Linked DNA regions of Homo sapiens: region 1 is linked to region 2. Evidence: promoter capture Hi-C in 16 types of primary human blood cells and fetal thymus (Javierre and others, 2016). All regions are on one chromosome and are shown on one strand. Each heading gives the region's core, a stretch centred on a gene start or on the middle of the fragment in contact. The rest is flanking DNA. Distances are from core to core; before and after follow the strand shown. Region 1 has its middle 29 kb from the start of LINC01133. Region 2 holds the start of OR10J1 (olfactory receptor family 10 subfamily J member 1).

Region 1 (3,716 bases), core at 757-3,256, 550 kb after region 2:
ATATCACACAAGATAACTGAGATTTAGGCAAAGCCGATTTGCCTCTCCTTCTCACTCTCATTCTGTGGTGTATATTCATTGAATGGAATAGCAGGTGGAGATTCTCTTACTATTTAAAGTGTTCTCTTGCTCACCGGGCACACTGGCACATGCCTGTAATCCCAGCACTTTGGGAGGCCAAGGTGGACCTCCCACTTGAGGTCAGGAGTTTGAGACCAGCCTGGCCAACGTGGTGAAACCCCATCTCTACTAAAAATACAAAAATTAGCCAGATGTGGTGGTGCATGCCTGTAATCCCAGCTACTTGGGAGGCTGAGGCAGGAAAGTCACTTGAACCTGGGAGGCAGAGGTTGCAGTGAGCCAACATTGTGCCACTGCACTCCAGCCTGGGCAATAGAGACTCCATCTCAAAAAATAATAATAATAATAATAATAATAGTACAGTGTTCCCTTGCTCAATACATAGTTGGGTTTGCTTAAGTTAAACAAGCATATAATGTAATTCCTTATTTGAGATTTTGTGTTTGCATTTTTAAATTAATAAGACATTTGTGATAAATTTTGGAGAAGCTTCTTTTACACTTTAAGACATCTAGTTTAGCCAAGACCATATTGAACCTGCCCATAGTCCATTGACAAGAGAAATGAAAATCCTCTTTCAGGAGGTAGCTGCAAAAGAATATGAATGCTTCTTTGGGCCCTCTATGTAAAACATGGCAACAAAAGGACTCAAGCCAGATCTTCTATCTCCATCCATCTCAGAAAGAATAATTCATAATGAGCGAAAAACAGCAAAATTGTGTCACTAAAATGACCTGAGACTTGGAATTAGGCAAAAGAAAATTCTAAGTGTTCTTTCAGTGCAGTACAGGGCATGATTTCTATGGACTATGTTATTTTACAATACTGTAGGAATACACCAGGCACAGTGGTTCGTGCCTGTAATCCCAGAAATTTGGGAGCCTGAGGCAGGAGGATCCCTTGATCCCAGGAAGGACCAACCTGGGCAACACAGTGAGACTCTGAGAGACAAGCGCTGGACACAGGAGCAGGCCACATGGGATGGTCTGGACAGGCTCTGCAGCACAGCAGCCTTCATGAGAAACAGGCAGAAGGGCCCGGGCATGAGAAGCTACTGCAAACAAAAAGCAGCAGCAGCTATAAAGGGCTTGTTCCCAAGCAACATGAATCATCTCTGAACTGGTCTGGTCCAATCCCTATAGTCTAACTAGCAAATATATTTTTTAAAATATTAGCAAACACACACACTAAAAACAGATTTTCATCTTTGCCAAGTGTGTGTTTTTTTCCTACACCAACCTATTATCCAATTCTCCTACAACAACTGAGTATCCTATAATTCAGTTCAACTCTGAGACTCAGTGGCGGGCAGACTCCACAGGCTTAAGGGCACAGTCCCATAGGATTGCCCTCACTTCTGATGCCAGTCACAAGCATCAGATCTCCAGGCTACCCACATTTGCATCTGACTTGGCTACAAAGTCAGGCTTCCCACACCCCACCCCTTGCCAGGGTTCAATAATTTGCTAGAATGACTCATAGAACTCAGGGGCCACTTTACTTACATTTACCGATTTATTATAAAGGATACAAATGAAGAGCCAAAGGAACAGGCCCAGAAGATGAGGTCCGGGAGGGTCCGGAGCACAGGGCTTCTGTCCCCATGGAGTTGGGATACACCATCCTCCCAGTATGTGAACGTGTTCACCAACTCAGAACCTCATTGTTTAAAGGTTTTTATGGAGCTTTTATTACATAGGGATGATTGATGGAATCATTGGTCATTGGTGACTAAATTCAATCTCCAGCCCCTCTCCCTTCCCCATATGAGGAGGGGGTGGAGCTGAAACTTCTGAGCTTTATCAGAACTTGATCAGAACTAGCTCCCATCTTAAAGTGATCTAGGGGACCCTGCCAAGAGTCACCTCATTAGCACAAACACAGATTGCTGAAAGGGGTGCATAATGAATAACAAAAGATGCTCCTATTGCTCAGGAAATTTCAAAGGTTTCAGGAGCTTTGCGCCAAGGACAAAGAACAAATTTTTTTTCCTATTATATATTCCAATGAATCCAGACAAGTTCATCAGAAAGTCAAACATATTGGTTGTCACAGTATATCTAAATAAGTTATATTTTTCTATGAAATGACAAAGATCATCATATTTGATCTAACCATATACTGTCCACAAGAGGCACATCTAAAACAAAAATAAATAAATAAAAATAAAAAATAAAAAGATAGAAAAAGATATAGTATACAAAAAGAATTAAAGTCCTAAACTATTAAAATAAAGGATAAGTAGTAAAAATCAAGATCTGCAATGAAGATGTGTTTGTCATAAATCTTTAGTTTCTGAATAAGAGGAAAATGACCAAAACACAATTGCTGTGGAGATTTCATCAGTTCTTAACAGATCAAGTAAACAAACAAAAGATGTAGAATGTCAGAAAAAAGTCATTGCTGGGATCCACTTTGTAAATATTGAAAAAAAAAACAAAAAAAATCTTTTTCAGGGTCTATGGAACAATTTTTTAAAATTGATTACATATTAAACCACTAAAAACCTTAAATAAATTTCAAGCCCAGAAATTTCATGACTACATTGCATACCACAATACAGTAAAACCAGAAATTGAAAAAATGTGTAAACAAAAATCGTCCAACTACTTGGTTTGAAAACACTCTTCAAAATAATCCACGGATCAAACAGGAAACGAAAACTGCAATTTACAGAACTCTTGGGCAATAATGATAATGAAAATACCACATATCAACATCAAGAGAAGACATCCACATCTGTAATCAGAAGTGTAAAATCAACTTTAGCCTAAAGCTGCAGACTTACTTATTTTAAGTTCGGTCTAAAGGCTTCTCAGTACATCGTGAACTGTAACCTACCTGGATGTATAAACAGACTGTAGCCTACTTTTGTGCCAATCAAGTTTGGGCCAATCACAGGCTGCCAACCATTCAAACTGTGTTCAAATAAGCTAAATGCCTGAGCTGTAACCAATCCAGCTGTTTCTGTGCCTCACTTCTGTTTCCTGTAAGTCACTTTTCTTTTCCTGTTCGTAAATATTGCTCCACCACACAGCAGCGCCATAGTCACTCTGATCCTATTCTAGTTTGGGAAGCTGCCTGATTCACAAGTCATTATTTGCCCAGTTAAGCTCTGCTAATGTTAATTTCTCTAAAGTTTATCTTTTAACAGAAGTGACTTCAAAGGGTTTGAGGAAAATGGTAATGAACATTTGTTGAGCAATTACTGTCTGCCAGACACTGTGCTAAGCACTTTTACAAGTGGTTTCTCAATGATTCCCCATAACTAACCTGAATTGCTTTAATTATCAAATAAGAAAGAATGAGAATATATGAAGTAAGCATATAACTCAAGATGTCAAAAAGAGGGATGTTAAATTAAGCTTTAGAAACAGAATAAAGTAATAAAGTTAAGAGATGAAACTCATGAGAAACCTGTGAAGGAACAGAATTGATCAATCAGCCCCAGCAGGTGTACATAGCAGAAGCTGTCATGCTTCTCCCATATGCTCAGAGCCACATCACTTCAGTGTCTTCCAAAAGAATTCCAATGCCAGTGTCTGCATTCCTTTGCCTACCAGCCTTTTCTGAGACTGTAAGCAGCCTTTCTGCCTGTGCCTGAGACAGGCTATAAGTGCCAGGGAATTAACACC
Region 2 (3,693 bases), core at 356-2,855:
TTCAGGTCCTATCACAGCTGGACAGGTCTTCATAAGCTATATTTGCTCTTCCTTCCATTTCCTTTGAAGAATTATAGACTTCCAAGAGTGGGGAGGATGCTAACCAAATCATAATAGCCATTCTTCTACCTCAAGACAGACAAGTTTCAGCCAGATAAGATGATATTTTAGCCGTGTGTTTCTCAATGGGAACTTTATTGGTATTTGGAAGAAGGGAATTCTTCCTTGGGCAGAATCACCACAAGTTTTGCAGGACATTTCACATCGTGAATGGCCAAGAGCTTCTGTGCTCATTATTGTAACAGTTAAAAGCTCTGCCAAGCATTTCTGATTTCACCATAGAGGCACCATACCACTCCGTGGCTGGACTACTACATAGTTTTTGCTCAGAAGCCTCACAGAAGACAAATGTCTTTAGACATATATTTTAGTATCAAATGATTTTCTTTATTGGAAAATATTCTCTATTGCAGCTTTACTTTCTTTTTAGCATTCTTAGTGTAAATGATTAACAGCTGGTCATCAACTTCTTTTAAATAGATTTTTATGAACTTGAAGAAAGTCTCCGTGCGTACTAACCTTCATCATTGATGTGATTTACTTTATGCAAAACTTCTCTTTCTGAATATGCATAAGCAAATCAGAATATAATTTAAATACCCTAGAGAAGCTTACTGTTTAAAGAGATAAAAATGTGAAATATTACATAAATTGAACTGATCCCCTTCCTTCAACAAAATGATGTATCTTTGGTGTAGCTGTTTTTTTATATTCAGGGTTTGCTTTTGCTTTAGGTGAGGGACACTTAAATTTGCTGTATCTTTCCTGATACAATTGTTTATCTCTGCAGAGTGGGTGTAGGCTTACTCACAAAGTTGTATTGGCTATAAATTTGCCTTCTAGTTTAGGGAAGGTAAAGATGTAGCATAGTTTATAACATACGTGAATCAGTGCTCTGAACTGTCAGCAGACTTCCATCACTCAGACAGAAGTGGGGAGAGGCTGGTGGTTGGCTAAGATTTTCCTTTTTCTTCTTGAAGACAAGATGAACCTTTCTACTTTGCTTCTAATTCTTAAAGGATGCGCAAGGAGGATGATTCATAGTCTTGAAAGAAAAGACATCACTAGTCCATCCCTAAACAAATTATTTTCAAGCACCCAATCCATGCATAATTTGGAGCTAGTGAAATATGAAAAGATGTAAAAGGTATTATAAAGTTGCTAAGTGTTTGTATGAGGTGAGGCAGCAATAATGGGGTAAAAATAATCCAAATAAACATGAGAACCTCTGAGTGTAATACGGTTTTATGAAGGCCTGAAAATGTGCACTCATCTCTGAAGAGTAGGAAAGAAATAAGAGGAGAAAAGAGAAGCCATTCCAGATGTCAGGGAGGAAGAGTAGATATGAAGTAGGAGCATGTATGGTTATACAGTGAAAAAGTGAGACTATATGATTCTATGATGCATGGAAAATTATAACAGATGGTCACAGAGTAAAAATATTTTAAGTAAAGATAAGTAAACCCAGGGATTAACTTAATCCACTAGGAAATACATCACCAGATTTGTAACTGAGAACTATTGAACTTCAATCAATTTCAGAAATGTGCTTCTACTGCTTTACTGGGACTATGTGACTTTTATGCTTTTATGTTTCAGATTTGGGAACCAATCCATGAAAAGAGAGAACTTTACTCTCATCACTGACTTTGTTTTCCAAGGTTTCTCTAGCTTCCATGAGCAGCAGATCACCCTTTTTGGCGTGTTCCTTGCACTATACATCTTAACCTTAGCAGGCAATATCATCATTGTGACCATCATCCGAATGGATCTTCATCTTCACACACCCATGTACTTCTTCCTGAGCATGCTGTCCACTTCAGAGACTGTATATACATTGGTCATTCTCCCAAGAATGCTCTCCAGCCTCGTAGGTATGAGCCAGCCCATATCATTGGCAGGGTGTGCCACACAGATGTTCTTTTTTGTAACCTTTGGCATCACTAACTGCTTCCTGCTCACAGCAATGGGATATGACCGCTATGTGGCCATCTGCAACCCCCTGAGATACATGGTTATTATGAACAAGAGGCTGCGTATCCAACTTGTCCTGGGGGCCTGCAGCATTGGGCTGATTGTAGCAATAACGCAAGTGACATCTGTATTCAGGTTACCCTTCTGTGCTAGAAAGGTGCCCCACTTCTTCTGTGACATCCGCCCTGTGATGAAGCTCTCCTGCATTGACACCACTGTCAATGAAATCCTGACTTTGATTATCAGTGTGCTGGTGCTTGTTGTACCTATGGGTCTGGTTTTCATTTCTTATGTTCTCATTATCTCTACAATCCTCAAGATTGCTTCAGTTGAGGGCCGGAAGAAGGCTTTTGCCACCTGTGCATCCCACCTCACTGTGGTCATTGTCCACTACAGCTGTGCCTCCATTGCCTACCTCAAGCCCAAGTCAGAGAACACCAGAGAACATGACCAGCTGATCTCGGTGACCTACACTGTCATCACTCCCCTACTGAACCCTGTGGTATACACCCTGAGAAATAAAGAGGTCAAAGATGCTCTGTGCAGGGCTGTTGGTGGGAAGTTTTCCTGACCATGTAGGAAGAGTTCTCCTGAGGCTGTCAACATCCACACTAGGCAGGAATATGAGGTGTAAACTCACAAACACTTGGCTCCTAGAGACCTGCCCCTTAAATAAGAGGCAAAAGAGGAATAGCAGTTTCATACAACTGGGAGTCTGAAGCTTTAAATAAAGTTACTGGATGGAGTGTTATCCCTATTTTTGGGGATAAATAGACAAACAAGGATAAGATATGCCTAAATAAAAGGCCAGAAAGTAGTATGGGCTGAGAATTTTTTACTGACCTTTTGGTTTCTTTGTGAATCTCCACCTAATGAAGGCAATAGAAAGCCCCTTGAGAAAATAGAATCCAAGACACACTTAAAATCTTTTTCCTATAATCCCTTTCTTCCTATACTAGAGCACCAGGGCTTCTGAAACTGGATTCCCTATTGGAGTATGTTTATGACATGTCAAGTAATAAGTTACTGTGTGGGGAGGGAAAGTGGCCTCAGGATTAGATAGCCCAGGAGAAATAGATGTTCTCTCCTGGATGTGTTAATTTATCCCAGATTCTAGCAAAACTGCTTATTAAAGATGGTGAGCATACACAGTTTAATTAGAGATGCTGGCAATTCTACAGTCATCATGACAGTGTTTTGAGGGCATAATCTGAGATACTCCTGGATCCTTTCAAATTTGGCTAAATCAGAAAACACATAATGGGCAAGAGCTATGAACTAGCCTCTGTGCTAGGTCCTGGAGAAATAAAGATTAAAAAAGCTTTCTTGTCTGGCTTCAGGAAGCTACAAGCCTAGTGGTAAAAACAAGCATTTGACAGTATGGTTTCAGTTCTTTATGGTAAGTGGTGTTTACACACAATTAAAGAAGAACTCAGAAAAAGAAAGAAAAGGAAAGGGGAAGAGAGAGAGACTGTTGGAGATGTTAGGGAAGTCTTAAGAGGAGGGGACCTGTGATGCAAACTGTTTTTAAAACACAAGAGATTGTCTGAATGATAAGAAAGAATTCCAAAGAGAAGAAACAATGTAGCTACAGGTATGAAAGCAAAAGGACTGATCAGGTAACGAAAAATGATTCAGTTGTGCTGACTCCAGGACATG

Evidence for each region. The method cuts DNA at HindIII sites, captures the fragments that hold promoters and counts their contacts. A CHiCAGO score of 5 or more calls a contact.
Region 1: a contact is called between a fragment that was not itself captured here and the fragment with the promoter of OR10J1 in region 2, in 1 of 17 cell types (neutrophils). The highest score is 6.3, in neutrophils.

The regions. Positions count from the first base shown.
Region 1 is chr1:159,988,680-159,992,395 of GRCh38, forward strand. No RefSeq gene overlaps it. Among named protein-coding and RNA genes, the nearest start is that of LINC01133, 29 kb to the left of the region's middle. The HindIII fragment of the contact is 2,876 bases long and covers 569-3,444 here.
Region 2 is chr1:159,438,117-159,441,809 of GRCh38, forward strand. It overlaps OR10J1 (olfactory receptor family 10 subfamily J member 1), which reads left to right and starts at 1,606. Exons shown (of 1, transcript NM_012351.3): 1 at 1,606-2,851. The coding sequence starts at 1,676. The coding sequence ends at 2,605. The HindIII fragment of the contact is 2,085 bases long and covers 669-2,753 here.